4 separate regions of the Homo sapiens genome follow, and all the other regions are linked to region 2. Evidence: promoter capture Hi-C in 16 types of primary human blood cells and fetal thymus (Javierre and others, 2016). All regions are on one chromosome and are shown on one strand. Each heading gives the region's core, a stretch centred on a gene start or on the middle of the fragment in contact. The rest is flanking DNA. Distances are from core to core; before and after follow the strand shown.

Region 1 (6,493 bases), core at 36-2,535, 310 kb before region 2:
ACCACATTGCCTCTCTAAAAATGATAATGTGGCAGGGCCAGGGAGAGGCCATTTCCTGATGGTCCACACCTGTTAATTGAATGCAGGTTCCAGGGAGAAGCAACTTCCTGGTCATGGATGTTAAGAGACAAAAATGGTGAAGTATGATTTTCTGGGGACGCACCACCAGAAAAAGGAAGAAAGCCTCAGATTGGGCATGCATATAACTCCCTAAACACACTGAACAGGCTCGGTTCCAAAGGGTAAGGAAAGCACTGGGCATGCGGAAAGCCCACCCTATGGGAAGAATCCTGGGAAAGAGGCAAACTTACGAAAGTCCTAGGATCATGGTTAAACGGCATTTGACCTTCTCTATTAAACTTCATGTGCCTGCTTTTTTTTTTTATTCCAAGCGCACCTTCCTTTCTTTCCTATTCTAAGGCCTTTTTAAATAAACTTCCATTCCTGCTCTGGAACTTGCCATGGACCCATACAGATAGGCTGCTGGTACCTTGGGGTAACTCAGATCTCTGCCACTGCTAACAGTAGAAGCAAAAATCATAAAATTATTTAATGAGGTTCTCTAATAGGTAGAGGAAATATTTAATACAATTGTATTATGAATGGGGAGGGTAAGGTATATAAATAAGGTAAATTTTCTACATTTCACTTGACATGGTAAAACAATAGTAGTATACTGTAATCCATTTTGTATGTATAAGGCAACACCTAGAGCAACCACTCAAAACAACTATAAAAAGAGATACCCTCAAAAACACTGTAAAATACTACCCACAGAGTGAAAATGCAATCCACAAAATGGGAAAAAATATTTGCAAGTCATATATCTCATAAAAAATTGCTATCCAGACTATATAAATAACTGCTACAATTCAACAACATTAAAACAAACAACCTGATTTTGAAATGGGCAAAGAACTTGAATTAACAAACATTGCACCAAAGAAGATATACAAATGGTCAATAAGCACATGAAAAGATGCTCAACATCATTAATAATTAGGTAAATGCAAATCAAAGCCACATTGAGATACCACTTCACACTCATTAGGATGCTATTATAAAACAAACAGTGCCGGACATGGTGGCTCACGCCTCTAATCCTAGCACTTTGGGAGGCCGAGGTGGGCAGATGACCTGAGGTCAGGAGTTCAAGACCAACCTGGGCAATGTAGGGAGACCCCATCTCTTAAAAAGAAAGAGAAAAGAAAAAAAAAAAAAAAAAAGGCTGGGCACGGTGGCTCATGCCTGTAATCCCAGCACTTTGGGAGGCTGAGGTGGGTGGATCACCTGAGGTCAGGAGTTCGAGACCAGCCTGGCCAACATGGTGAAACCCCATCTCTACTAAAAATACAAAAATTTGCTGGGCATGGTGGCGGGTGCCTGTAATCCCAGCTACTTGGGAGGCTGAGGCAGGTGAATCGCTTGAGCCCAGGAATCGAAGATTGCAGTGAGCCGAGATCATGCCACTGTACTCCAGTAAAAAGAGTGGTAGAAGAAACAGTAAAACCAGTAAAAGGGTTCAGTAAGGTTGCGGGATACAAGATCAACATATAAAAATGAATTATATTTCTTTTCTTTTTTTTTTTGAGACAGGTTCTTGCTTTGTTGCTCAGGCTGAAGTGCAGTTGTATGATCTCAGCTCACTACAACTTCTGCAACCCAAACTCAAAGGAGACTTTCACCTCAGCCTCCCAAGTAGATGGAACTGCAGGCATGTGCCACCACATCTGGCTAATTTTTGTATTCTTTGTAGAGACGGAGTTTCACAATGTTGCTCAGGCTGGTCTCAATGAATTATATTTCTATAGACCAGTAATAAACATGGAGAAGATGAAATTAAAACACAATATCATTTGCAATCATTAAAAAAATACTTAAATACTTAGGTGTAAATCTCACAAAACCTGTACAGGATCTGTATGCTCAAAACTACAAACCAATGATAAAATAAATCAAAGATCAAAATAAATGGAAGGACATACCATGTTCATGGATTGGAGGACTAAGCATGGCAAACATGTTCAATTCTCCCAAATTAATATACAGATCTAACATATTTCCTATTATAATGAAACCATCATTGCGAAATTATAACTAAGACAGTGAAAGAGATCTGACCTAACCTCCATCTTGCTTCTAACCTCTAAGCTGCTCTTGTTCATTCCTGACAGTAGGCCAAACTAAGTTTGGGAGGAACTTAATGTACAGTCTATAGTTTGAAACAAACATAATAACAGCCCTTTCCCAAAACAAACCCCCTTCTTGCCTGAGGACTAGACTGCCTTTGTAGGACCAACAAATTAGCCAAAAGATCAGAAATTATGGTTTAGGATTCACGCAGCTAGAGGCTACAAGATTCTGACCCTTCCCAAGTTGATCCAGTGGATAACAACACTATTATAAAACCTAAGATAAGTACTTGAAATATTTTGCAAATCCTGTACTCAGTGAATCAACTGATACCACCCAGATCAATAAACTGGCTCATTTGGTTTTGTGGCCCCTACCCAGGAACTGACTCAGCACAAGAGGATGGATAGCTTTGACTCCCTATTATTTCATCTCTGGCCAATCAGAACTCCCTGTCTGAACTCAGACTCACTTTCTCCCTACCCACCAAATTATCCTTAAAAACTTCAATCCCCAAATTCTCAGGGAGACTGATGAGTAATAAAACTCCAGTGTGAATTACTCTTTCTCTATTGCAATTCCCATCTTGATAAATCGGCTCCGTCTAGGCAGCGGGCAAGATGAACCTGTGGGGCTGTTTACAACCTAGTCAATATTTTTAGAAATAGACAAGCTTATTCTAAAATTCATATGGAGGCCAGGCACGGTGGCTCACGCCTGTAATCACCACACTTTGGGAGGCCGACGCGGGTGGATCACGAAGTCAGGAGAGCGAGCATCCTGGCAAACACAGTGAAACCCCGTCTCTACTAAAAATACACACACACACACACAAAAAGCCGGGCGTGGTGGCGGGCACCTGTGGTCCCAGCTACTTGGGAGGCTGAGGCAGGAGAATGGTGTGAATCCAGGAGGCAGAGCTTGCAGTGAGCCGAGACTGTGCCACTGCACTCCAGCCTGGGCGATGGAGTGAGACTCCGCCTCAAAAAAAATAAAATAAAATAGGCCAGTTGTGGTGGCTCACGCCTGTAATCCCAGCACTTTGGGAGGCTGAGGTGGGTGGATCACCTGGGGTCAGGAGTTCAAGACCAGCCTGGCCAACATGGTGAAACCCAGTCTCTACTTAAAATACAAAAATTAGCCGGGCATGGTGGCAGGTGCCTGTAATCCCAGCTACTTGGGAGGCTGAGGCAAGAGAATTGCTTGAACCCAAGAGGCGGAGGTTGCAGTGAGCCGAGATCGTGCCATTGCACTCCAGCCTGGGGGACAAGAGTGAGATTTTGTCTGAAGAAAGAAGAAAGAAAGGAAGGAAGGAAGGAAAACTGGACTTCATAAAAATTAAAAACTTTTGCTCTGCAAAAGGCTCTGTTAAGATGAAAAGATGAGTTATAGACTGGGAGAAAATATTTGCAAATCACATGGCAAAGGACTTTAATCTAGAATATATGAAGAATTCTCAAAACACAATGGTTAAAAACAATCCAATTATAAAATGGGCAAGAGGCATGCAGATACATTTCACCAAAGATGACATATGGATGGCAAATAAGCACATGAAAACATGTTAAACATCATTAGCCATTAGGGAAATGCAAACAAATGAAAACCAGTATCAATACATCTCTGATAGAACAGTGAAAATAAAAACTAGTGCTAATCCTATATCCTGGCAAAAATGCAGAGGAACTGCATCTCTTATTGTTGGTAGGAATGTAAAGTGAGATAGCAACTCTGGGAAATAGTTTGGCAGTTTCTTATAAAACTAAACATATACTTACCATATTATCCACCATCACACTCCAGGACAATTATCCCAGAGAAATGGAAACTTATATGCACAAAAACTTATACACAAATGTTCATAGCAGCTTTATTTTTAATAGCCCAAAACTAGAAACAACCCAATGTCCTACAATAGATGAGTGAGCAGTCAGACAAACTGGTACATCCACAGCAATCTGTTAAAAAACGAAAAACTATCGGTACATATAATAAAACTTGGATGGAATTCAAGAGCATCATACTGTGGAGGGGAAACCCATTCTCAAAAAGTTAACATATGCTATGTTTGTATCACATATATTATGCCATTCATAACTTCTTGAAATGACAAAATTACAGTGAAGATTAGTGATTTCCAGGGGTTAGGGAAGGTGGTGAAAGGATGGGTGATAAGGTGTGACAATAAGTGGGTAGTACAAGGGTTCCTTTGTGGCAACGGAACAATTCTGTATATTATGGTGGTGGTTAAAGTGCACAACTACACACATACACACACACACACACGAACTGGTGAAATCTGAATAAGACCTGGAGTTTAGTTAATAGTAATGTGCCAGTCAGTGTTGGTTTCTTAGTTTTGACAAAGTTACCATGTTAACATTAAGATATTAACATAAGGGGGAAACTGGATGAAGGGTATATAAGGAACTCTGTACTGTCTTTGTAACTTTTCTGTAAATCTAACATTCCAACATAAAAACATTTATTTTATAAAAGCAAAGAAAAAATGCTAATATGACACTATTACACATCAACCAGAATAGATGAAATTACAGTGAAAATAGCAGGTAGGTAACATGAGGCAATACTCTTATTTTCCAGTAATTTCCTTTTTAAGCTTTATACCCAGCAGAAATACATATGTTCAACAAGACAATTCTAGAATGTTCATAGCAGCTTTATTCATAATAGCCAAAACTGGAAACAGCCCAAATGCATAGTAACAGAATGAGTAATTTATACAATTCAATACTGTATACAACAGTATGAATGAACGAACTACAACATGCAACAATACAGATGAGTTGTATAGACATACTGTTGAGTCAAAGAAGCCAGACACAAGAGTGCATATTATTTCATTTATTTGAAGTTGAAAAACAGGCAAAATAAATCTATGCTGTTGAATTAATAGACCATCCTTGGGATAGTGGTATAGTAACTGGAAGAGAACATGCATGGGGCTTCTGGAGTACTGGTGATGTTCCAACTCTTAATTTCATACTAGTTTTTGCATGTATTCACGGTGTGAAAAATCACACCTGTACACAATTTGTGTGATTTTCTGTATGTAAATTATACTTCAATAAAAAATTTACCAAAAAGCAAACAAACAGCAAGTGAGATATCACTACACACGTATTAAAAAGCCTAAAATTAAAAGAGAAATCAATCAATACCAAGTGCCAGCAAGGATGTGGAGCAACAGAAATGTTCATTTACAGATAGTGAGAATATAAATTAGTATAATCACTTCAGAAAAATGGTTGGCAGCCTCTATATCTAAAGGTGAATATGCACATATTCTATGAACCAGTAATTCCACCCCATTACATACCCATCACAAATGTACACATGCGTGTTCTCAAAAGACATGTACAGGAATGTTCATAGTAGTATTATCCCAAACTGAAAATAATCCAAACGTCTTTCAGTGCTGTTGGAGCTTATTAAAGTCAATTACAGCTCAGAATTGCAGTGAAGTTAACTTCCTTGGGGGCATCCCTCAATCAATTGGAAACAGGAGCCAGCGGATAAATATTTCAGCCTCCTGTTCAGTCAGACAATTCTGGGAAGCATTATATATCCAACCTCCGTAATACCTTTCTATTGATTTTTCTTCTGTCTCTCTACCATCTTTCCCACTCCTGCATCCTGGAGCCAAACGCCAAATAAACTACTGCACTCAAGTTTTTTTTCTCTGAAGATCTGCTCTCAGGGAAGCCCAAACTTCCATGATTCCATTTATAGATGGCTTCAAAACAAGTAAAACCTATCTATGGTGATACAAGTCAGAAGAGTGGCTAGGATAACCAGTGGTGGTAATGATGGCAGAGAGATTTCTGGAGTGCTGGTTATGTTCCACATCCTGATCAGAGTGGTGTTTCAACTGGCATGTTTACTTTGTAAATCTTCATCAAGCTGTATGCTTAAGATGTGTCCATTTTATAGTATATAAGTGTTTTAACTTTAAAAATTAAGGAATGTAGGTGTTAAGTGGTACAAGAGATTCCCACTAAGAAAAAAGTGGGCTTTGTAAGGGAAACTGAACTTAAAGGTATTGAAAAACAGATGAACAGCCGGGCACAGTGGCTCACGCCTGTAATCCCAGCACTTTGGAAGGCCAAGGCGGGCGGATCACAAGGTCACGAGTTCATGACCAGCCTGACCAACATGGTGAAACACCGTCTCTACTAAAAATAACAACAACAAAAAAGCCGGGCGAGGTAGCAGGCGCCTGTAATCCCAGCTACTCAGGAGGCTGAGGCAGAATTACTTGAACCTGGGAGGCGGAGGTTGCAGTAAGCCAAGACCATGCCACTGGACTCCAGCCTGGGCAACAGAGCAAGACTCAAAA
Region 2 (7,414 bases), core at 565-3,064:
TTGATGCCAGGTGTTCAAGACAAATTTGGGCAACATAATGAGACCATATCTCTATTAAAAAGTTAAAAATTAGCCAGGCATGGTGGCATGCACCTGTAGTCCTAGCTACTCAGGAGGATGAGCCGGGAGGACTGCTACACTCCAGCCTGGGCAACGGTGAGAGACGCTATCTCAAAAACAAAAGCAAAAAAAGTCGTTGGCATCATTTATGCACATTTTTAAAAAGTTTCAAAACAGGAAACCAAAGAATAGGGGAAAAAACATAACAAAACAAAAAATTGTATCTATAAATAAATCAATGAAGTTTCTAGAGCAAGGGAAAAAAAATTCTCCCTCTTAGGTAATTCAGGAACTACTCTGAGACTTGACTACTAATTATTGCCTGACCATATGACTTGCACTTCTTACTCCACTATCCTCCCCTCTTACCTCTTTAATTATCTAGGTCCTATATAGCCATAAAGGCCAAATTCAAGTGCCAATTCCACTATGATGGTTTTGATGGCTTCACTACCTACACCAGCTCTTGTTACTTCTCTTCATTGTACAGACTGTAGATTCATTCATTTGGTTTCGTACATATATCTTATCATATTCCTCACTTTTTGTAAGCGTCTCCCCTTGAATCCTATGCTTTTTAAACTTCTTGAGGACAGGGGCAATTTCTTCCTTATTTTTGTCTAATTAGACCCATGAACACTGTAGATACTCAAGAAAGGTAATTAATTAGGTGGGAGGATCCTGCCAGTGCATCTTCTATTTCTAGGGGCCAGAATACGAGCACATGAACCTAACATGATCTAGACAAGATTTAGAGATGCAGTTGAAGATACTGACAAATATTGGAACAATCTACCACAAAGGTGATACTGAGTCACTATTTTTGCAGAGCTTTGTTACTAGTTTGCCTTAAATAATTCAGAGTTTGTCCTGAGGGTAGGGAGTGGATAACAGTGAATTTAATCTTTTAAATTTCCTTCAAGTTTTATGATCGTGACACGGGGGCAACAGGAGAAGAGAAAAAGTTTGGAAACCAAACACAAATGTTTTCAGATTCCTGCTAGGTATGTAAATGGCTAAGTCAATGCCGGTAGGGGTACTCATTCAGAAACACCCAGTGCCACTCTGTACGGGCCACTAAATTGGGCACTGCGGATATAAAGGTTCATTCCTCGCTTACTGTACCCACAGCTGCCAAGAAATGACCACTACAAAACAGTCGTTATAACTGAGGGAACAAAGCGCCAAAGCAGCAACAAAAAGGGGTTCTTGCTGCTTCGCGGGATAGGGGGCTGAGCAGCCTCACAAAGGCGACGTCCTCGCAGTCTGAAGAGGAGTGGGCAAGGCGGACGAGGGTGGGGCTCAAGCGTCCGTCCGGTAAAAGTGAGCTGGAAGAACCGAGGCCCAGCGTGAGGAGGAACCGCGAACTACTTGCAGAAGGGCGAACGTCTGCTGCTGAAGGTGGAGAGGGAGTACCAATGTACGAGGCTTTATAGAAATGGCCGTTTGGTAAAGGGCAGTGACTCTGGAGCTTTTTCTCTAGGGATCCCGCCCGTCCTCCCCGGTTGAGCCTCGGCCCCAACAGCCCAGTGCCTCACCCAAGTGCCCCGAGTCCTGCTTCCGCCTCCGCTGCAGCCTCTCCCGCAGAGAGTCCAGCTGCTTCTTGTGGGCCTGGATAGAGCTCCACGTGTCCGACATCCTAGTCTCCCAGCCCTGACACCTCTCGAATAAGGCGCGGCGGACTAGCACCTCCCAGCACTCGCTCCAGGATATAGCCAATTCTCACGCGGACACCCCGAAGGCTAACCGGAAAATGACCCCTGGAGCTGAGCAAGACAGAAAAGTCATTTCCGGTGTCGCGCTTTCTTGGAAGCTATAAAGAGCCACGTTAGGTGTTGGCAGAGCGGCCGGTATAGTCCTCATACCCGCTCTCTCATGCTTCCGGACACAGTGAGGCTGTGGTTGCCATGTTGGTGACTGGCAGAGCGGCCATGTTGCTTATAGACGCGCATGCGGCCATGTTGAATATTCGGAGAGGAGTCCTGAGAGTTGACTTGTGTTAAAGTAGCACTCGTAGAGAGCAACACCATATAGTACAGTTTTGGGGGTTTTTTTCTTTTTTTTTTTTTTGAGACGGAGTTTCACTCTGTCGCCCTGGCTGGAGTGCAATGGCGCGATCTCGGCTCACAGCAACCTCCACCTCCCGGGTTCAAGTGATTATCCTGCCGCAGCCTCCCGAGTAGCTGGTATTACAGGCGCCCGCCACCACGCCCGGCAGATTTTTTGTATTTTTAGTAGAGACGGGGTTTCACTGTGTTGGCCAGGCCAGTCTCGAACTCCTCACCTCGTGATCCGCCCTCCTTGGCCTCCCAAAGTGCTAGGATTACAGGCGTGAGCCACCACACCCGGCCATAGTACAGATTTTTAAGATGAAGGATCACTAGTTCCTTTTGACAGTTTGGTACTAACATACCTTTTCCACTGAAGGTGGTGTTGGTTTGTTTCCATGCGTTCATTTACAAAAAAATAAAAAACACAACGGTGGTCCCCAATCTGAGGTGAGGAGGGGGCGGTGGTGGGTGCGGGCATGCTTCTTTGTGTTGACGAGGCGTGGGGAAGTGGGGAGGGCTGATGAAGGAAAAATCCGAGAGGTCTTCAAATACGTGATCTCTCTCTTAGGCTAAATTTACAAAGTACGTGTAATCTATTAAAATCGGGTTCCGACACTAAGAGGGCTTTGAGGTCCTGGTTGCGTTGTGTTTTTTGTTATGAGAGCTACCTGCATGAGTGTGTTCAGTTTGTGAAATGTAATTGAGCTGAACATTTTGGTGTGCACTTTTCTGTATGTGTAGTAAACTTAAATACAAGGTTGGTGGTGGTGGTTTTTCCTACAATCCTTTCTTTCTTTCTTTTTTTGACACATTTTCTTTTTTTTTTTTTTTTGAGATGGAGTCTCACTCACTCTGTCACCCAGGCTGGAGTGCAATGGCGTGGTCTCAGCTCACTGCAACCTCCGCCTCCTGGGTTCAAGCGATTCTCCTGCCTCAGCCTCCCGAATAGCTGGGATTACAGGCGCGTGCCACCACACCTGGCTAATTTTTTTTATTTTTAGTAGAGACAGGGTTTCACTATGTTGGCCAGGCTGGTCTCGAACTCCTGACCTCGTGATCTGCCCCTACGATCTGCCCCCCTGCCTCAGCCTCCCAAAGTGCTGGGATTACAGGCGTGAGCCACCGAGCCTGGCCTGACACAGAGTTTCATTCTTACTGCCCAGGCTGGTGTGCAGTGGTGTGATCTCAGCTCACTGCAACCTCCACCTCCTGGATTCTAGCTGCCTCAGCCTACCTAGTAGCAGGTATTACAGGGACCTGCCACCATGCCCAGTTAATTTTGTATTTTTAATAGAGATGGGGTTTCACCATGTTGGCCAGGCTGGTCTTGAACTCCTGACCTTAGCTCATCAGCCTGCCTTGGCTTTCCAACGTGCTGGGGTTACAGGCATGAGCCACCGGCTTGGCCTTTTGTTTGTTTGTTTGTTTTGTTTTTTTAATGGAGCTCCCTGAATGGAAACATTTCGGGAATCACTGACTTATCCAATGTCTACATGATGCCATACGCTGTTGTCCAAAAAATACAAAAAATAGTTTGACTGGCATGGCTCCTGTTTTCAAAGAGTTTATAATCTGGTCAAGGAGCTGTGAGCCAGTTTATTAATACTGAACCATCTTCACAGCATGAGGTAGCATGGGCATAGACTTTTTAAAAAACAAAAACAAAACAAAACAAAAAAACAGGAAAAAAAAAAACGTGATTTCAAAGAAGAGGAGGACTCCAAGTTTAATGACCCAGGAAGGCATTGGAAAGAAGCTGGAATCAAGGTTCAGGCTTAAAATGACCACTAAGGTTTCAGTAGGTGAAGGTATAGGAGGGAAATCCAGGTCTGGAATATGATAAAGGCAAAGGTCTAGACTAGAGGTAGGAAAGCGTGATGTGTGTTATGCCAATCTGGATTAGTTCGCCAGAACATAAAGATTTATATTTGGGAATATTGGGAGAAATTTTAGGTTTCCAAATTTGAGGCCAGATTGTAGAAGGTACATGGTACCTGAGTAAAGACTTGGCAATTTATTCAGAATACAATAGGAAACACTTAGGGTTTGTAAATAGGAATGTTTCAAAATTGATTTGCTGTTCTAGATAAATTGAGGTGAGGAGGAAGGAGATTTTGGAGAGGACAAAGATGGTTATTAGTCCATTGTAACTAAGTGTCTGATGAGAAGAACTGTAACTAAAAGCTGGTTATGAACAGTAATGAAAAGGAAGGGGTGAATATGAAGGGAGCTATTGAAAGATGTATGTGTATTGTAATATGACTTTTATCCATTCAGTAAGTATTGAGTGTTTACTATGTGTTAGATACTATGGAGATTTAGTAGTGATGAAAATACTCATTTCCATCTCATTTTCTGAACTTAATTTACTTTTAGGGAATTTACACTATCTATTGGGATGTGTAACTTTGTTTTTTTGTTTTTGTTTTATTGAGACAAGCCTCACTCTCACTGCTGGAGGGCAGTGGTGCAAAGAAGTAGCACAAGTACTCCTGAAAGTCAATCAAATCAAGGGCAGCTCCCAGAAGTTTTTGCTTTCACATTAACTCTGGGTAAATTATTACAGTGGCATATTGGGCAAATTTTAGAAGTACAGGAAGGCCTCTTAGCATGATCTTCTTGTAGAGAGATTCTTTTTAGACTCCTCTTGACCAGTTTGCTGCTCAAAAGAAAGACATTGCTTTCTTGTCCGCGCGTAGCCCTCAGCAGTACACAGAGGAGAAGGAGGAGGAGGAGGAGGGAAAAATGCAGAATTCTTCTAGTCAAAATGGAGTGTAAGCCTAATTTTGAGCAGATGGGTGCTGCATGCATTACACTTCTCAACTTTTCCTCATATCTGCTATGGTAGATTGCTTCCAGTGTTGGCCACAACAATGCCTCTCACCTACATGCCCTTAGGCAGTGTGACTTTGCCCCCTTTCAATCAATAAGTAAAGCTTATTCCCCCTCCTCTTGAATCTGAGCTAGGCTTCTGACTAGCTTTCACCAAAAGAATGTGGCAGAAGAGATATTCCCTGAGTTCTAGACCTTAAGAGGTCTAGACCTTAAAAGGAATTACAGCTTTCGGGATTTGGTTTTGTTTTGTTTCTAATTTTTGAGAGAGAGTCCCTGGGTCTGTTCCATCTAAACACTGTTGAAGCAAGAGACAGATCTGAGGGACCTCCAGATGTGCTGCCGCGGCTTCTGTTTCTGCCCTCTTGGAACCCTGGGCCTTCATGGAAGTCCAGTCACCCTGATAGACCACTTAAAAAGAGAGACCCTGGGGGATGAAGGATGGTAAGGAGAGAGGGTTCAGCATTCCAGCCAGCCATCTGAGTAGCCAGAAGTTGAGGCCATCTTGGCTTCTCCAGTCCAGATGAAAGCTGCATGAGTGAGCCCAGTCCTCACCACATGGAACATAGACAAGCCATCCTACCAGGCACTCCATGGAATCATAAGCAAATACGTAAGTATTAAGACACTAGGCTGGGTGCGGTGGCTCACACATGTAATCCCAGCACTTTGGGAGGCCAAGGTGGGCGGATCATGAAGTCAGGAGTTCGAGGCCAGCCTGGCCAACATAGTGAAACCCCATCTGTACTAAAAATACAAAAATTAGCCAGGTGCGGTGGCATGTGCCTGTAGTTTCAGCTACTTGAGAGGTTGAGGCAGGAGAATCGCTTGAACCCAGGAGGCAGAGGTTGTGGTGAGCTGAGACAGTGCCATTGCACTCCAGCCCGGGTGACAGAGCAAGACTCTGTCTCAAAAAAAAAAAAAGAAGACATTAATTGGCTGTGTGCTGTGGTATGTGCCTGTAATCCCAGCTGCTTTGGAGGCTGAGGTGGGAGGATCCCTTGAACTCAGGAGTTCAAGACCATCCTAGGCAACATACCGAGACCCCATCTCAAACATAGCACTAACTGTATACTTCACTTTTTTTTTTTTTTTTTTTTTTTTTTGAGATGGAGCCTTGCTCTGTTACCCAGGCTGGAGTACAGTGGCACGATCTCAGCTCACCACAACTCCCCCTCCCGGGTACAAGCAATTCTCCTGCCTCAGCCTCCCGAGAAGCTGGGACTACAGGCATGTACCACCATGTCCGGCTAATTGTATTTTTAGTAGAGACAGGATTTCACTGTGTTGGCCAGGCTGGTCTCAAACTCCTGACCTCGTGATCCACCCGCCTTGGCCTCCCAAAGTGCTGGGATTACAGGCGTGAGCCATCGTGCCCAACCCTTCGCTTTTTACTTGATTCTTTGGCTGAATGTTTTTTCCCTCAAGTCTTGTTCATATCTGACTAAAAACAGAATGCCCACTAGGGTTAGTCAACCTACTGTTATTAAATGTTAGAAAAGGAAATATAAAGGGAAGTCAAAGTTGGGTCTAATTGAGAATAAGACTAGTGAAATCTGTTTTAAGGATCAGAAGACAAGTGTTTGTTGATTGACTAAGAAGTTCCAGGGATGATAACCAAAGTTACAGGTGCAGGAGTTTCTGAGAGATGAGAATGTGCCAATAAATTCTGCGCCTTATTCAGGGGTGACACAGGTTGAATTCCCTGAGAAGCAGATGCTGGGACAGAACTGGTATAAGGAAAGACAGTGGAGGAAATGGGGAGTGGAATTGATTAGGGAGAGCTGTCAGACCACAATGCAGACCTGATAAAGTCTCTGCCAGTCCAGTGGGAAGTTCCAGAGCAAATATTGTTCATTAGAGTCCTATGTTCCAATGGCTAAGCCCTTGTACCTTGCTCAGTTTTGGGCCAAGGATTGGAGAAGAGCAGTACAGCTGGAGGTTGTCAGCTAACCAGGCTCCTTGCACTTGGTAGCCAGTTCTTTCTTGAAGGAACATCTCAAAAGCAGCCCATCTCTGTGTCTGCCAAACAGAGTGTGATGGATCTTATACAGGTTTTTGTTTTTTTTTTTTTTTTGAGATGGAGTCTTGCTCTGTCTCCCAGGCTGGAGTGCAGTGGCGCGATCTCGGCTCACTGCAACCTCCACCTCCCGTGTTCAGGTCATTCTCTTGCCTCAGCCTTCTGAGTAGCTGGATTACAGGTGCCTGCCACCACACTTGGCTAATATTTATTTATTTTTGAGACGAAGTTTTGCTCTTGTTGCCCAGGCTGTAGTGCAATGGCATGATCTCAGCTCACCGCAACCTTCTCCTCCTGGGTTCAAGTGATTCTCCTGCCTCAGCCCCCCAAGTAGCTGGGATTACAGGCCACTGCCACCACGCCCAGCTAATTTTGTATTTTTAGTAGAGATGGGGTTTCACCACGTTGCCCAAGCTGGTCTCGAACTCCTGACCTCAGGTGATCCACCTGC
Region 3 (6,850 bases), core at 3,342-5,841, 300 kb before region 2:
AAGCCTTTCAAGGATGAGGTATCACCAACACTGGTAGCTGTTTAATATATTCATCTTACAACTGGATGCTAAAAATGCAATCACTGTAATTAATAAAGTTGAGGAAAACACAAAGATTAGCTAACAGGGGTAAAAGATCATTTAGAGTAAAATAAATGTGTAACATTCTCTATGTTCTCAATCACCTGGGAAGGCAGTCTATGGAATATCAGGAAGTAAGAGTTTTCTTGTTTTCAGGAACATGGAGGTATATACACTTCAGAATTCAGAAGGTAACTGGGGCTATAAATAGTAATTAAAAGAACAAAATAGAAGCAGGGGGGTTCCATTATGCAGCTGTCGCCATTTTCCTGAAATCTTGATGTTTTTGAGCCTCTCCTATTTAAGGACAAAACCATTTAGCACAAAACACAAACCTCAGAAAGGGTGCCAGCTGGACCACAAAGCACTGATGAAAAGGCAGAGAGGATATACTTCCCAAACTTTCATTAGGATGTAAAAGCCATTTTGAAAAAGTCTCCACTCTATGTCAAGTTGACTCCTCAATGCAACATGCATCTCAATGAAATATAATTTGAGTAGTGTTGTGTTGGTATGCATCATGATTATGACTCCAAGAAAAATATATCTAGTGCATTCTAGAGGTTTTGTGGAGGACGCTGTAAAACAAAGTTTGAAGTAAACAATAATAAAATACAAAAATAAAAAACCAGGGTTTTTTTTTTCTCCAAATTCCTGGTTTAATAAGGACTTGTTTATTTTGAGGAAAAAAGGTCCCAAACATCAGGCTGTTCACAAAAATAACCCACAGTATCAACTTTAGAAAACAAATCTTAAGACTATAACACTAATTATTTTTCTAGAGGATGCATTTGACATGCCAACTCTCATTCACAAAAATACATTGTTACATTTGTGTTGAACTGCCCCACACAGCACACTAATGTGAGGGTGTAACACACATACTTCTAACTCAAAGCTGCTTTCAAGAGCTACTCAACTAAATGAGATTGCCTTTGCAGTTAGGGAAGCAACTACTGAACTTATGTATGAATGAAAAGAACTGTACTCCCTGCATAACAAGAGATTATTTTGGAGACAGTTGATAAAAACCATACATCCTTTTTATTGTTAAGTCATAAAGAGGTATCAAAATTAAAAGCAAAAATTACAGGGTAAGACTTAACAAAACTACTAGGAGCGTCAAAGGAAGTGAAAATGGGACTAGGCGCGGGGCAATATGAATTAATGAACATGGGAAGGACAAGGATGGGGAGAACAGTGAGCATGTGCTGAAGATACTAGGGGAGAGGATCTGGTGAAAAATTTGATCTTAGACAAGCGCCTAGGTAAAGAAATAATGGGATAAGATTTCTAAACCCCACTATGTGCTTAAGAGTCATCCTCGCCATTGGCGCTGTCTCTGTCATCCTCTCCTTCCTCAGCCTCTTTTTCATCATCCTTGATCAACTCCAGCTGTGAGAAACAGACACAAACAGGATGGAGTTAGAGGCACTCCATGTGTCCCTGAGCCCCCCTCCACCACCTTTTTCTTTCCTTTCCCGTGGTTTTCACCTGGTCATCCCCCCGATCTTCATTATCATCATCATCCAGTAGGTCCCCCTCCTCAGCAGAGTCATCTGCACCCCCCTCAGACTCCATCTTCACATTAGTCTCATCTTTCTTCACGGAGCTGCTGCTCTGCTCCTCTTCTGACTTATCATTCTTCATCTCTACTGCGGATGAGAAGGACAAGTCTGTCTAGGGGCAGTAATGTCCACAGGACGTAGACAATCCCCACTAAGGATCACAGAACTGCAGCACAAATCTAAATCCTCCCACACAAATACCCTTCCCAATTCACACTCCCCAAGTTTCATATTACATTGCTTTATATTCCACTATTCCAACATGTACTTTCAAGTGCCTTATGTAACTAACCCAACTGTATACCAAGGGCAAGCAGAAAACCCATTTACCTGCTTGTTTGCTCTGTTCCTTTTCAATTTTTTCCAGGTTTTCCAGGAGAGAATCCACTTTTTGTTTTATCTGGGTCAGCTCCTTCTTAATGGCCTGAAGGTCATCTCCTTTCACTTTAATATAAACAAAATACTAGATTAAAATCAAATGTACCGAAGATATGAGTTAGCAAATACACTGCCACCAGACTACATCAGGAGCTCACAGGAGATACCCAGGGAGAAACAGAGCCAGTACAGATTTCTCGGTAATAAAGGCCCTTGGTTCTATTATAAAGCACGTTCTGTAATGGTTTTTATTGTTTTTAATGTCTTTTAGATCAGGGCTGTCGCTATGTTGACCAGGCCTGAGGACAGTGACTATTCACACGTATGATCACAGTGAACTTAAACTCCTGGCCTCATGAAATCCTCCCACTACAGCCTAGATCCCCAGGGTCTTAGCCTCCCCCTAAGCATCTGGGGCTACAGGCACGCACCACTGCATCAGACCTTCTGTAATGTTTTACTGCCTTCCATATTTCCAGTTACAGGAGGAGTTCAATATAGAAAAGTTAAAAAAAATCAACATACTGAACACTGTCTGAATTTTAGTTTTTAAATAACACAAAAAAATCTCAGGAACTTAACGCACACCTCAACTACATAAAGTCAAATGACATTTTTTAAATTACCTAGCTGTTGCAGTCTAGAATTGGCCACTCAATCACAATCTTGTCTCCTCTGTTATTTTGGATTTTTTTTTTTTTCTTGAGATGGAGTTTTGCTCGTCACCCAGGCTGGAGTGCAATGGCATGATCTCGGCTCACTGCAACCTCCGCCTCCTGGGTAAAAGCGATTCTCCTGCCTCAGCCTCCCAATTAGCTGGGATTACATGCACGCACCACCATCCCCGGCAAATTTTTTGTATTTTCGGTAGAGATGGGGTTCCTCCATGTTGGACAGGCTGGTCTTGAACTCCTGACCTCAGCTGATCCACCCGCTGGGCCTCCCAAAGTGCTGGGATTACAGGCATGAGCCACCACACACCCAGCCTCTTCCATTATTTTGAATACACAAAGTCATGTGGCACAAAAATATTGTAACTGCATTAGCTTCCCTATCTCAAAACACAAGAGATACCAAAATCACAAAATGAAATAATACATACACTTTCCAGACTTGGAAGATCCCCGCTGTCCACTCTTAGAATTGAAGCCACTTTTGCCCCTTCGTGAAGTGTTTCCTGATACACGCTGACGTTTCGAGGGCACTACAGCCCGAGCAATAGGAGGAGGAGGAGGTACACGTGCTGGGTAACTGTACATCCTATTGGATAAGAGGAAAATGGAATTCATTCAAACCTAACATTAACTCAGCACAATTCAACAGACCTTATGATAAATAGTAAGTGAATATTGTCTCTAGTCGTTTCCTTTTATTAAATTTCATTAAGAAGGCCAGCAAAAACCTCCACAGTGGGGTTTAGAAATCTTATCCCATTATTTCTTTACCTAGGCACATAAAATAGTTGTAATACTGTAGCAACTTTTCCTCAGGAAAATAAAACATATATCAAATTATATGGTTGGCTGGCCTTTGGCACTGGATATAAATGATTCCTCTGTACTAGTGTCAGTATTAACAGGGCATTTATTATAATGAATAGCCTTTGGATCTTATTATTTTCAAATATACATTACAATAAACAATTCACATACGGTCAAATACTCTTTAAAATGTTCCAATTAAAAGGGTATATAAACAGTGGTATATGGCATTAGCGAAATCTCTGATTCTTTTCACCCACAGAAGCACACGAATTATTACAACTAGTGATATAAGGTTGAACCATATAAAATTTCAGATCTATAAAATCAGGGCAATTTCATGTAACTGAGGGAATCATAGCAAAATGTGTTGGCTGGGTATAAATACTACTGATAAAAAATACCTCATATAAAAACAGGTAGTATCATTTCTAACTAAATTTACGCTTAATTCCAACAGGGCAGAGACCACTGTCTATCTTGTTCACTACTCACCTATGTCTAAATTCACTGGCCAGTACACACTTAGCACTCAATAAACACTGGTTGCTCAACTAATTGCTGTTTCTATTAGAAATCTTAATTTCAAATGTCTTAAACTTAGTATCCCAGTGATTGATAAAGATACACCAAAGCAGTGGCTTGGTACACTTACATTTGTAAAGAGAAAATTCAAAACAGAACAAAATACTTCTTACATGGACATCAGTTCTAAACTTTCTACATTCCACATTGTCATTTCCATATAAGAACCTATGGCAACGTATGAAAAGGTCTTCAATTCTGCAAGCTTTTTAAAAATGCAACTAACTTAATGCAAAGGCCCAGGTACTCTATAAAAATACACCTACCAACTGTTCTAACTCCAAATATTTCTTAAAAAACAAATGTGATAGTCAAGAACTTTAAAAATATTATTAATCACCTTTGTCATGATTCTCCCTCTTATATATATACAATAGTGGCAAGTTATTCTGAGTTGTAATATCTCCAATCTTCCTGTAGTGAAAACATTTACAAGATCTCATTGCTAATTCTCTCCTCTGTTAACTTAAAAGTGTTTCCACACTATTTCAACAAAGCAATGTTTAATCTTGTCCCAGGAGTGGCTATGGACAGGAACATTTTCCTAAATTAAAAGAGCAAGGAAAGCTGAGATGGAAAGACAGGTTGAGCCCAGGAGGTGAGAGAACCATGACTGCACCACTGCACTCATGCGGAACAGAGCAACACTGTCTCAAAAAAAAAGAAAACAGAAAAAAGTTTGCATTTCCCCTAAGTATGGTTAATCTCTTAGTTTAATCCATTCATGGGAATTAATGCAAAGAAAAAGATACTGAGTAACTTTTTATTATCACTACTTTCCCATTTTGACATAAAGCTTTTGGTCTTTTTGACCAAAATCTTGCAAAGTATAATGATACAGAAACTATAAAATATCAGTGTTCAGAAACTCATATCCTTTGTGAGAGATGGTAACACTTGCACAAACACAAATTGCTTAACGACAATTTCTGGAGGTGAATCAAAATAAGTTATCCATATCCATGAGCATTAAACTGAGCTTAAGCCTCAGTCCAATGGAAATAAATATCTAATCTACCTCCTAAGCCACAAACCTTCACCGGCACCCGTATCTAAACCAATGAGCTAGCTAGCTAGTTCTGTACTATCACTGGAATTTCTTTTTAAAACCTACTATTTCGTCTGACCACAGCCAAAATAAAGCAAGTAATACAGTTTTGTTTTGAATCTATGTAACAGTCTCATGAACACAATTAGGAGTCAAATTCTCTACTTTTCTGAAGAAAAATATTTCAAAATATTTCAGCCAGTTAAGGCTTTTAGTTACACAGAATGCTGCTCAGGCAGAAATGGACTCTCATTCACATCTGAGGAAGTAGTCCTTGCCTCGAAAAATGTTGAGGACGGTAAGTGTGAAAATAGAAAAAAAACATACATAGTGTGACAACCTTTAAGTTAAAAGGGATATATATTAAGAAGCTCAGTATGACTACTTCAAGCACCAGCTAAAAATTAAGCGGAAATTCTCACTATGAGAAAGCTATACAATAGATGAGGCAACAATAGCTGATTACTTACTGATTAAGGCTAGGCTGTTTAAAATCTTTTACCAGGGGAACAAGGACTAAACCCTAGGAGAATTGTAACTGCACCCATAATCAAACTTGATGGTGTTGGTATAAAATCTAGTCAGATTAAGAAATTAAAACACTCTAGAGACATTAATCACCTGAACAGATTAAGACAAAATACACCAGCCAGGTGTGGAGGCTCATGCCTGTAATCCCAACATTTTGGGAGGCGGAGGCAGGTGGATCATGAGGTTACGAGTTGAGACCAGCCTGACCAACATGGGGAAACCCCGTGTATACTAAAAATACAAAAATTAGCCGGGCATGGTGGCACACGCCTGTAATTCCAGCTACTCAGGAGGGCTGAGGCAGAAGAATTGCTTGAATCTGGAAGGCAGAGGTTGCAGTGAGCTGAGATCATTCCACTGTACTCCAGCCTCAGTGACAGAGCAAGACTCCGTCTTAAAAAAAAAAAAAAGAAAGGAAGAAAGAAAGAAAAGGAAAAGAAAAAGAAAAAAAAAACAACAAAACACACCAGCTGGATGCAGTGGCACACCTGTAATCCCAGCTACGCAGGAGGCTGAGGCACGAGAGTTGCTTGAACCCAGGAAGGAAGTGGGGGTTGCAGACAGCCATTGCACTCCAGCCTGGGCGACAGAGTAAAAACTTTTGTCTCCTCCACCACCAAAAAAAAAAAAAAAAAAAAAGACAAAGAATGTCTACCCCAATTCCAAAGTAAAAGCATTACAAGACATGTACTAAGAAGAGGTTTTCAAAGGGAAGCTTCTTAAATGGAAATTCTGACCATAAGACATTAGCTGCAAACAGTGACATTTCCTGGGTCTCAAAAAACCTAGTAATACATGTCAACACTACACCAGAGTAGACGTTAATCTATTAATAATAAAGCTATCATTTGGTACATGGACCATTTAATGGACCACAGCTGATTCTCATCTTAAAAATGTGAACAGATTGAAATAATCTGTTTTGCCGGACAGGGTGGCTCACACCTGTAATCCCAGCACTTTGGGAGGCTAAGGCGAGCGGCTCATTTGAGGCCAGGACATGGAGACGGGCCTGACCAACATGGTGAAACCCAGTGTCTACTAAAAATAGAAAAAATTATCCAGGTGTGGTGGCACATTCCTATAATCTCAGGTACTCCGGGGGCTGAGGGACAACAATCGCTTGAACCTAACAGGCGGAGTTCATAATGAGTCAAGATCCCACCACTGCACTCCGG
Region 4 (7,115 bases), core at 1,486-3,985, 270 kb before region 2:
CAAATATTCCTTAAAACAGAAAATCCATTTGGTAGAAATTTTAAAAGGTTAATCACATTAGTAATAATAGTCCAAGTCTTAATGCACCTGTATATACTCAAATATTTTGAGGTCAATGCCCCTCATCATCATATTTCCCCTCTTCTAGTTGAAGGGGTCTAGAATTTTTCTTTTTTTAATGCAAGCTAACCCAGGGATCCTACTCTATCACCATTTACTAGTATGTAATAGTCGAATAATGCTGTTAGATAATAAAATGGCACTAATTTACATGAACTAGATTTAACATTAAGAAATCTGGGGCTGGGTGCAGTGGCTCACACCTGTAATCCCAGCTCTTTGGGAGACTGAGGCAGGCAGTTCACATCAGGTCAGGAGTTCAAGGCCACTCTGGCCAACATGGTGAAACCCCATCTCTACTAAAAATACAAAAATCAGCCATGCGTGGTGGCCTGCACCTGTAGTCCCAGCTACTCGGGAGGCTGAGACAGGAGAATCGCTTGAACATGGGAGGAGGTTGCAGTGAGCCGAGATCGTGCTAATGCACTCCAGCCTAGGCAACAGAAGGAGACACTGTCTCAAAAACAAACAAACATACAGTTCAAATATTCCAGCCTCCATTATTTGTAAATCAGAAGGTTAAATACTTCAAAAGTGAAGCAGTAGTTTAGTCACATTTCCAGCCAGGCACTTTGGGAGGCCGAGGCAGGTGGATCATGAGGTCAGAACGAGACAGTATCCTAGCTAACATGGTGAAACACCATCTGTACTAAAAATATGAAAATAATTAGCGGGGTATGGTGGCACACACCTGTAGTCCCAGCTATTCGGGAGGCTGAGGCAGGAAAAATGCTTGAACCTTGGAGGCAGAGGTGCAGTCAGCGGAGATAGCGCCACTGCACTCCAGTCTGGGTGACAGAGTGAGATTCTACCTCAAAAAAAAAATGTCCTCAACAAATGAGAACCTTAGGTGCTATTTCTTTCTTAAACTCAACATGTCATGAAAAGCTCTGTCATGAAAAGGATAGACTTTAAAAACCTAAAATTAGGCCAGGCACGGTGGCTCACACCTGTAATCCCAGCACTTTGGGAGGCTGAGGCGAGCAAATCACCTGAGGACAGGAGTTCGAGACCAGCCTGGGCAACATGGTGTAACCCGGTCTCTACTAAAAATACAAAAACTAGCTGGGTGTGGTGGTGGATGCCTGTAATCCCAGCTACTTGGGAGGATGACACAGGAAAATCCCTTGAACCCGTGAGGTGGAGGTTGCAGCGAGCCAAGATCATGCCACTGCACTCCAGCCTTGGCAACCGTGTGAGACTGGGTCTCAAGAGAGAAAAAGGACAAAAAAAGCGGAAAAATAGTGGTTAGCACTCAAATTTCTATTACACACATGGACAAATGCGTTTGTATATTATATACTATAATTTCATTACAGGTTCTTATTCCTGTTTTTAATCAAAGGATCACAAAAGACCTGTTTTACCTAGAAAACAAGTCAAAACCAGGAATACTAAGTTATTTCTAATGCCCAAAAATCTGTGTTTTTGTCTGATATGCTTGTCTGTTTTATCATATGCTCTATCCTGAAGCAATAAAAGCGATACAAGATTTTAATAGTAGTGGGAAGGACAAGAAATTTCCTGAATATAGAAATTTGCCTCTACTCGCACTCTCACCATCCCAGCCACAGCTTAAAAGCAAAAAATAAGTAAAAACTCTATCTAGTTGGGATATAGCCAAACTGTAAATTTTATTTCCAACTGTTCATTGTAAGTGTGAGGTGCTATCATGCCTCTTCACCCTTTTAATGGAGGGAAACCAATCTTGGATTGTCAATCTAGCTAAAATTTTGAAAATATATTTATAAAAATACTTCATTACCATTACATTAACTTTAAATCTCAAGTAATTCAATTCTACTTGGAAAAGGTACGGCAGTTTGCATTATCTGAAGATTTTTTACATAAATAAAGTTCAAGTGGTCCACAAACAGGTTGTGAGAGCCCTGGAATTTGCTGAGAGCTGAGCCAAAATGAATTTGAACATGGAGTCAAGACTTCAGCTTCCTTTTTTATCTGGGCACTGTATGCCAGCTTTGATAGAGTTCAGGTCACAGGAGATAGGTGCCGTTCAACCCAACTGTTTTCAGTATATCTTGGCTTATTTAGTGCAAAAGTATACAAGTTAAACAAAGTACAAGATGTTTCTACTGGGCATTTATTTCAGCAAGCCCTGGCCACCTCTCCACATGGGTTAATCACATTATACTTAAAACACATTATCCAATGGTCCAGGAGAAAAAAATTAAACATGCTGTCACTTTCACTTACCAGACATTATCTCACACTAGAGACAAAGGAAAATATATATTACCTCAGATTTGGAAATTCAAAACCCTGCCTTACAATTTCCTTTATTACTGTATCTTAAAACCTCAACTAGGCCAGGTGCGAAGGCTCACGCCTGTAATCCCAGCACTCTGGGAGGCCGAGGTGGGTAGATCATGAGGTCACGAGTTCAAAACCAGCCTGGCCAACGTGGTGAAACCCTGTCTCTACTAAAGACAAAAATTGGTGGTGGCAGGCGTCTGTAATCCCAGCTACTCGGGGGGCTGAGGCAAAGAACTGCCTGAACCCAGGAGGCGGAGGTTGTAGTAAGCCGAGATTGCACCCCTGCACTCCAGCCTGGGAACAGAGCAAGACTATGTCTCAAAAAAAAAAAAAAAAAAACCACAACCATAACAACAAAAAAACCTAAAGTAGCCCCTGCATTCAATTCAAATTAAATGCCAATTCTATATACTAAATATGCTATATATGTAAAATTTCCCTTCTTTGCAGAATTTCAAAGACAAAAGTGACACTAGATGGCAGCAATGAGTTGTCAATTTTCTAAAAGGTTTACTAAATTTTCTGTATTCCAAAGTTTTCAGTCATTCACAATTTCTTAAGTTTCTGAATACTCTTTGGATACTATAAATTCCTCTGCATACTTGGATGATCTTCATTTGATCTAAGTTGTTGAACACACTTCAAGTCTTATTTTGCCTATTTAGGTCCGGCTACCCTATCCCACATTACTCTCTATCTGGTCACCATTTTTGTACCCTGCTTCCTATGGATCTTATTGCTTTCAACTACTTCCCTCTGGCCTCTTCAGAGGCCAACAATGCCTGGAAAAATATGTGCATTTTAATTTGCTGAACTGCCAAGAATCATTAGCTCATTTAATCAAAAACAGTATCTCAAGGTAAATACTGTGAGAGTAATCTCTGAGAAAACAGTAATACCTGGGGATATTACTAAGACATTTTCAGCCTATGAAGAAACAAAGTTGGCTACTTTTAGAACACATTATGTTAACTGCTATGTTTAAGTATTAGAACTAAGAATACCTAAGACCTTGTACATCATGGTGGGAAAATGAATAATTCAATACATGGTACTACTAGGTAGCCATCTTTTTCAAAAATTGGAACCAACCTCACTCTAAATCCTAATATAAATACAAATCGTGTAAAACTGCACACGCAAAGGTCAAAACCCAAATGAAATAAAACAACTCTCAAAAGGAAGAGTAACAAAATTTAAAAATGGCAGGAAATCCAAACAAATGGATCATAAATATAATCATATATAATAATAATAAGGTGTGGGGCCAGGCAAGGTGGCTCACGCCTGTAATCCCAGCACTTTGGGAGGCCAAGGCAGGAAGATCACGAGGTCAAGAGGTGGAGACCAAACTGGTCAACATAGTGAAACCCCATCTCTACAAAAAATACTAAAAATTAGCTGGGCGTGATGTCAAGCGCCTATAATTCCAGCTACTCTGGAGACTGAGCTAGAAGAATCGCTTGAACCCAAGACGCGGAGGTTGCAGTGAGCCTAGATCGTGCCACTGCACTCCTGTCTGGTCGTCAGTGCAAGACTCCGTCTCAAAAAGATGTTAAGACACATTATTTAAAATTTATTTACATTGGTGAGGACTTAACACCAATTTAACATATGAGAGTACTGTCGATGTATGCTAAAAGCGCCAGGTAAAACTTGGTGAGTGGAGTACAGGATTTGCAAACAGATACTCTATAATTACATAGGGGGAAAATGTATCTTTACAATGAAGACCTGGAGGTCTCAACCTAAACTAAGGGATCATAGTTAGAAAGTTGTAGGACAACCTAACATTGCATGCCTCCTGATGTGACACACTTAAACACGCATTATCACCTACGCATTATTCTCACCAAGCTATCTTTCTAGAATCTATATATGGGGGAAACAATCAGACAATTTCAAGTTTGTGGGCAATCACAATACAACTGGTTTGGACACCTCAAAAAATAAAAACTAGGGGCCTTTTTCTAGATTAAAAAAGCAGTGCCGGCATGGCCAATGTGGTGAAACCCCATCTCTACTAACAATACAAAGATAAGCTGGGTGTGGTGGCACATACCTGTAGTCCCAGCTACTTGGGAGGCTGAGGCAGGAGAATTGCTTGAACCCTAGAAGTGGAGGCTGCAATGAGCGGAGATCAAGCCACCTCACTGTCTCAAAAAGGAGAGGTGGGGGGGTGGGCAGTGTGTGAATTCTGACTGAACACTAGACTGGGCAAAAGAGACATTTTTATCTAGATAATTTTACTATCAATTGTTTAATTACTGAATTGATGTTCATTATTCTTTTGATAATATTTTGGTGGCATGTATTTCCTTTATTCTTAGGAGATGCAGCCACATGGAAGCTCCTAACTTCAGTGCGTATCATGTTTGCTGAAGTATCATGTCAACAAACTTTGAAATCATTCAGGAGAAAAGTGTAGAGGACAAACATGGCAGTTGCTATCCGAAGAGTGGGGCTTACACAGGAATGGTTTATTCTATGTATGTATATATTGTGTTCAAAAGTTTTCTTAAGATGCTATATATAGCAGATTCAAAAATGATATACACCAGATTGCACACTTCACCAAATTTCCAAAGAAAAGATTACATCTTTTTTTCTGTCAAATCTGCTTATGTAACAATGATCATGCAATGAAGTGAAGGAAAAGAAACTGGCATTTCCATTGTTTTAACTAACTAAACCAGTACACGTTTTGTAGGCTCATATGAAAATTCTCAATAAAAGGTATCAAGCAATGGGACGGTAGGTCCCTATATCTGTATTCATTAATCAACTGAGGATATTCAATTTCAAGTACTTCCATGTTTGCTTGGAACTGAATCTTTTATATAAATCTGTGACAAAAGATACTTGACAGCCATTAAACAAAAACATGGTAGAATACTTACTGACTGGAAAACATCTACCACGTAGAGGTTCTAACACTATAATAATTACATATTAGTAAAATATACATATATATATACCTGTAGCTACATAAGACAGAGAACAAAACATAAAAATGTTGATGGTGGTTACCTCTGAGTGCTGATGACATAAGTAAATGAGTAAATACTATTTTTATCTGCATATTTCCTCCAAGTTTTTTTTTTTTTTAAGACGAAGCTTAGCTCTTGTTGCCCAGGCTGGATTGCAGTGTTGCGATCTTCGATCACTGCAACCTCTGCCTTCCGAGTAGCTGGGACTACAGGCGCCCGCCACCACATCCGGATAATTTTTTGTACTTTTAGTAGAGATGGGGTTTCACCATGTTGACCATAGCTGGTCTCCAACTCCTGACCTCAGGTGATCCGCCGACCTCCACGTTCCAAAAGTGCAGGGATTATAGGCGTGAGCCCCCACGCCTGCCCGCAAGTTCTCTCTATAAAGCACTTTTATAATCAAAATTGTTTCCTTTCAATGTATGAGTGATGTAATGCAACAAATAAAAAATTAAGGTCTTAAAACATCTCGATGTAAAAAACTAATTCATGTCATTTAATTTCCCCCGAGGTCCCTCAAAAGATGCTAAAAATTCCATTTAAGGTATCCTTTCTCACTTACCAATGGTGGAGCTTTTGAATTGCCAAAGTCAGAGAACTCACAATCTAATGATATACGATTCTAAATCATAGTTGACTCTTTAATTCTTCCCTTAGCTCTATTCTTGGAATTACATTCATCAGTAAACCAATTAATCACACATTGCTTAATGACAGGGAAATGCATGAGAATTGTATCGTTATGCAATTTTGTCACTGTGTTAATGTCGTAAGAGTGTAGTTACCCAATACCAAGCTAGATAGTGTAGCCTACCACACACCTAGCCTGTATCGTATAGCCTATTGCTCCCAGACTACAAACCTGCATAGCATGCACAGTACTGAACACTATAAGAAGTTCTAACACAGGGCGGGAAAGGTGGTTCACGCCTGTAATCCCAACACGGAGTTTGAGACCAACCAGACCAATATGGTGAAACCCAGTCTCTACTAAAATAACAAAAATTAGCCAGGCGTGGTGGCATGCGCCTGTAGTCCCAGCTACTCAGGAGGCTGAGGCAGGAGAATCGCTTCAATCCCGGAGGCAGACGTAGCACTGAGCCAAGATCACACCACTGCACTCCAGCCTGGGAGACAGAGCGAGACTCCATCTCAAAAAAAAAAAAAAAAAAAAAAGCAAAAGAGAAAACAAGGGCTGAGTCTAAGTTCTAACACAATATTATTTGTGTACTTCAAAAAAGAAAAGGTACAGTAAAAATACAGTATAAAAGATTTCAAAAATGGGCTGGGAGCAGTGGCTCACGCCTGTAATCCCAGTACTTTTGGAGGCCGAGGTGGGTGGATCACTTGAGGTCAGGAGTTCAAGACCAGCCTGACCAACATGGAGAAACCGCGTCTCTACTAAAAATACAAAAATTAGCCAAGCGTGGTGGTGCATGCCTGTAATCCTAGCTACTCGCGAGGCGGAGGCAGGAGAAATCGCTTGAACCCGGGGGGTGGAGGTTGCAGTGGGCTGAGATCGCACCACTGCACTCCAGCCTGGCAACAAAGCGAGACTGTCGCCAAAAAAAATATATATATATTTCAAAAACGGTATACCTATATAAAGCACTTACCATGAATGGAGCTTTTAGGACTGAACGTTGCTTTTGGTGACTGTACTGAGTGAGTGGTGGGTTTGAAGCCCTAAGACATTACCATACACTACTGTGGACTTTATAAACATGG

The links. Contacts are between HindIII fragments. The CHiCAGO score rates a contact against its expected background, and 5 or more counts as called.
Region 1: a fragment that was not itself captured here is called in contact with the fragment with the promoter of METTL3 in region 2 in 2 of 17 cell types (naive B cells and neutrophils); the score reaches 5.3 in naive B cells.
Region 3: a contact is called between a fragment that was not itself captured here and the fragment with the promoter of METTL3 in region 2, in 3 of 17 cell types (naive B cells, total B cells and monocytes). The highest score is 7.0, in naive B cells.
Region 4: a contact is called between a fragment that was not itself captured here and the fragment with the promoter of METTL3 in region 2, in 4 of 17 cell types (neutrophils, monocytes, total B cells and 1 more). The highest score is 8.0, in neutrophils.

What each region holds. Positions count from the first base shown.
Region 1 is chr14:21,195,478-21,201,970 of GRCh38, forward strand. LINC00641 (long intergenic non-protein coding RNA 641) reads right to left here. Exons shown (of 2, transcript NR_038971.1): 2 at 4,602-6,456. Among named protein-coding and RNA genes, the nearest start is that of LINC00641, 8.2 kb to the right of the region's middle. The HindIII fragment of the contact is 3,037 bases long and covers 1-2,804 here.
Region 2 is chr14:21,509,526-21,516,939 of GRCh38, forward strand. METTL3 (methyltransferase 3, N6-adenosine-methyltransferase complex catalytic subunit) reads right to left here and starts at 1,815. Exons shown (of 11, transcript NM_019852.5): 1 at 1,599-1,815. The coding sequence starts at 1,698. RefSeq lists an enhancer at 1,858-2,097. The HindIII fragment of the contact is 13,792 bases long and covers 1-5,045 here.
Region 3 is chr14:21,209,831-21,216,680 of GRCh38, forward strand. It overlaps HNRNPC (heterogeneous nuclear ribonucleoprotein C), which reads right to left. Exons shown (of 9, transcript NM_004500.4): 6 at 3,130-3,287; 7 at 1,980-2,093; 8 at 1,576-1,736; 9 at 1-1,476. The coding sequence ends at 1,393. Among named protein-coding and RNA genes, the nearest start is that of LINC00641, 6.4 kb to the left of the region's middle. The HindIII fragment of the contact is 591 bases long and covers 4,297-4,887 here.
Region 4 is chr14:21,238,544-21,245,658 of GRCh38, forward strand. The region is part of intron 2 of HNRNPC (heterogeneous nuclear ribonucleoprotein C); the gene reads right to left. Among named protein-coding and RNA genes, the nearest start is that of HNRNPC, 27 kb to the right of the region's middle. The HindIII fragment of the contact is 5,548 bases long and covers 1-5,509 here.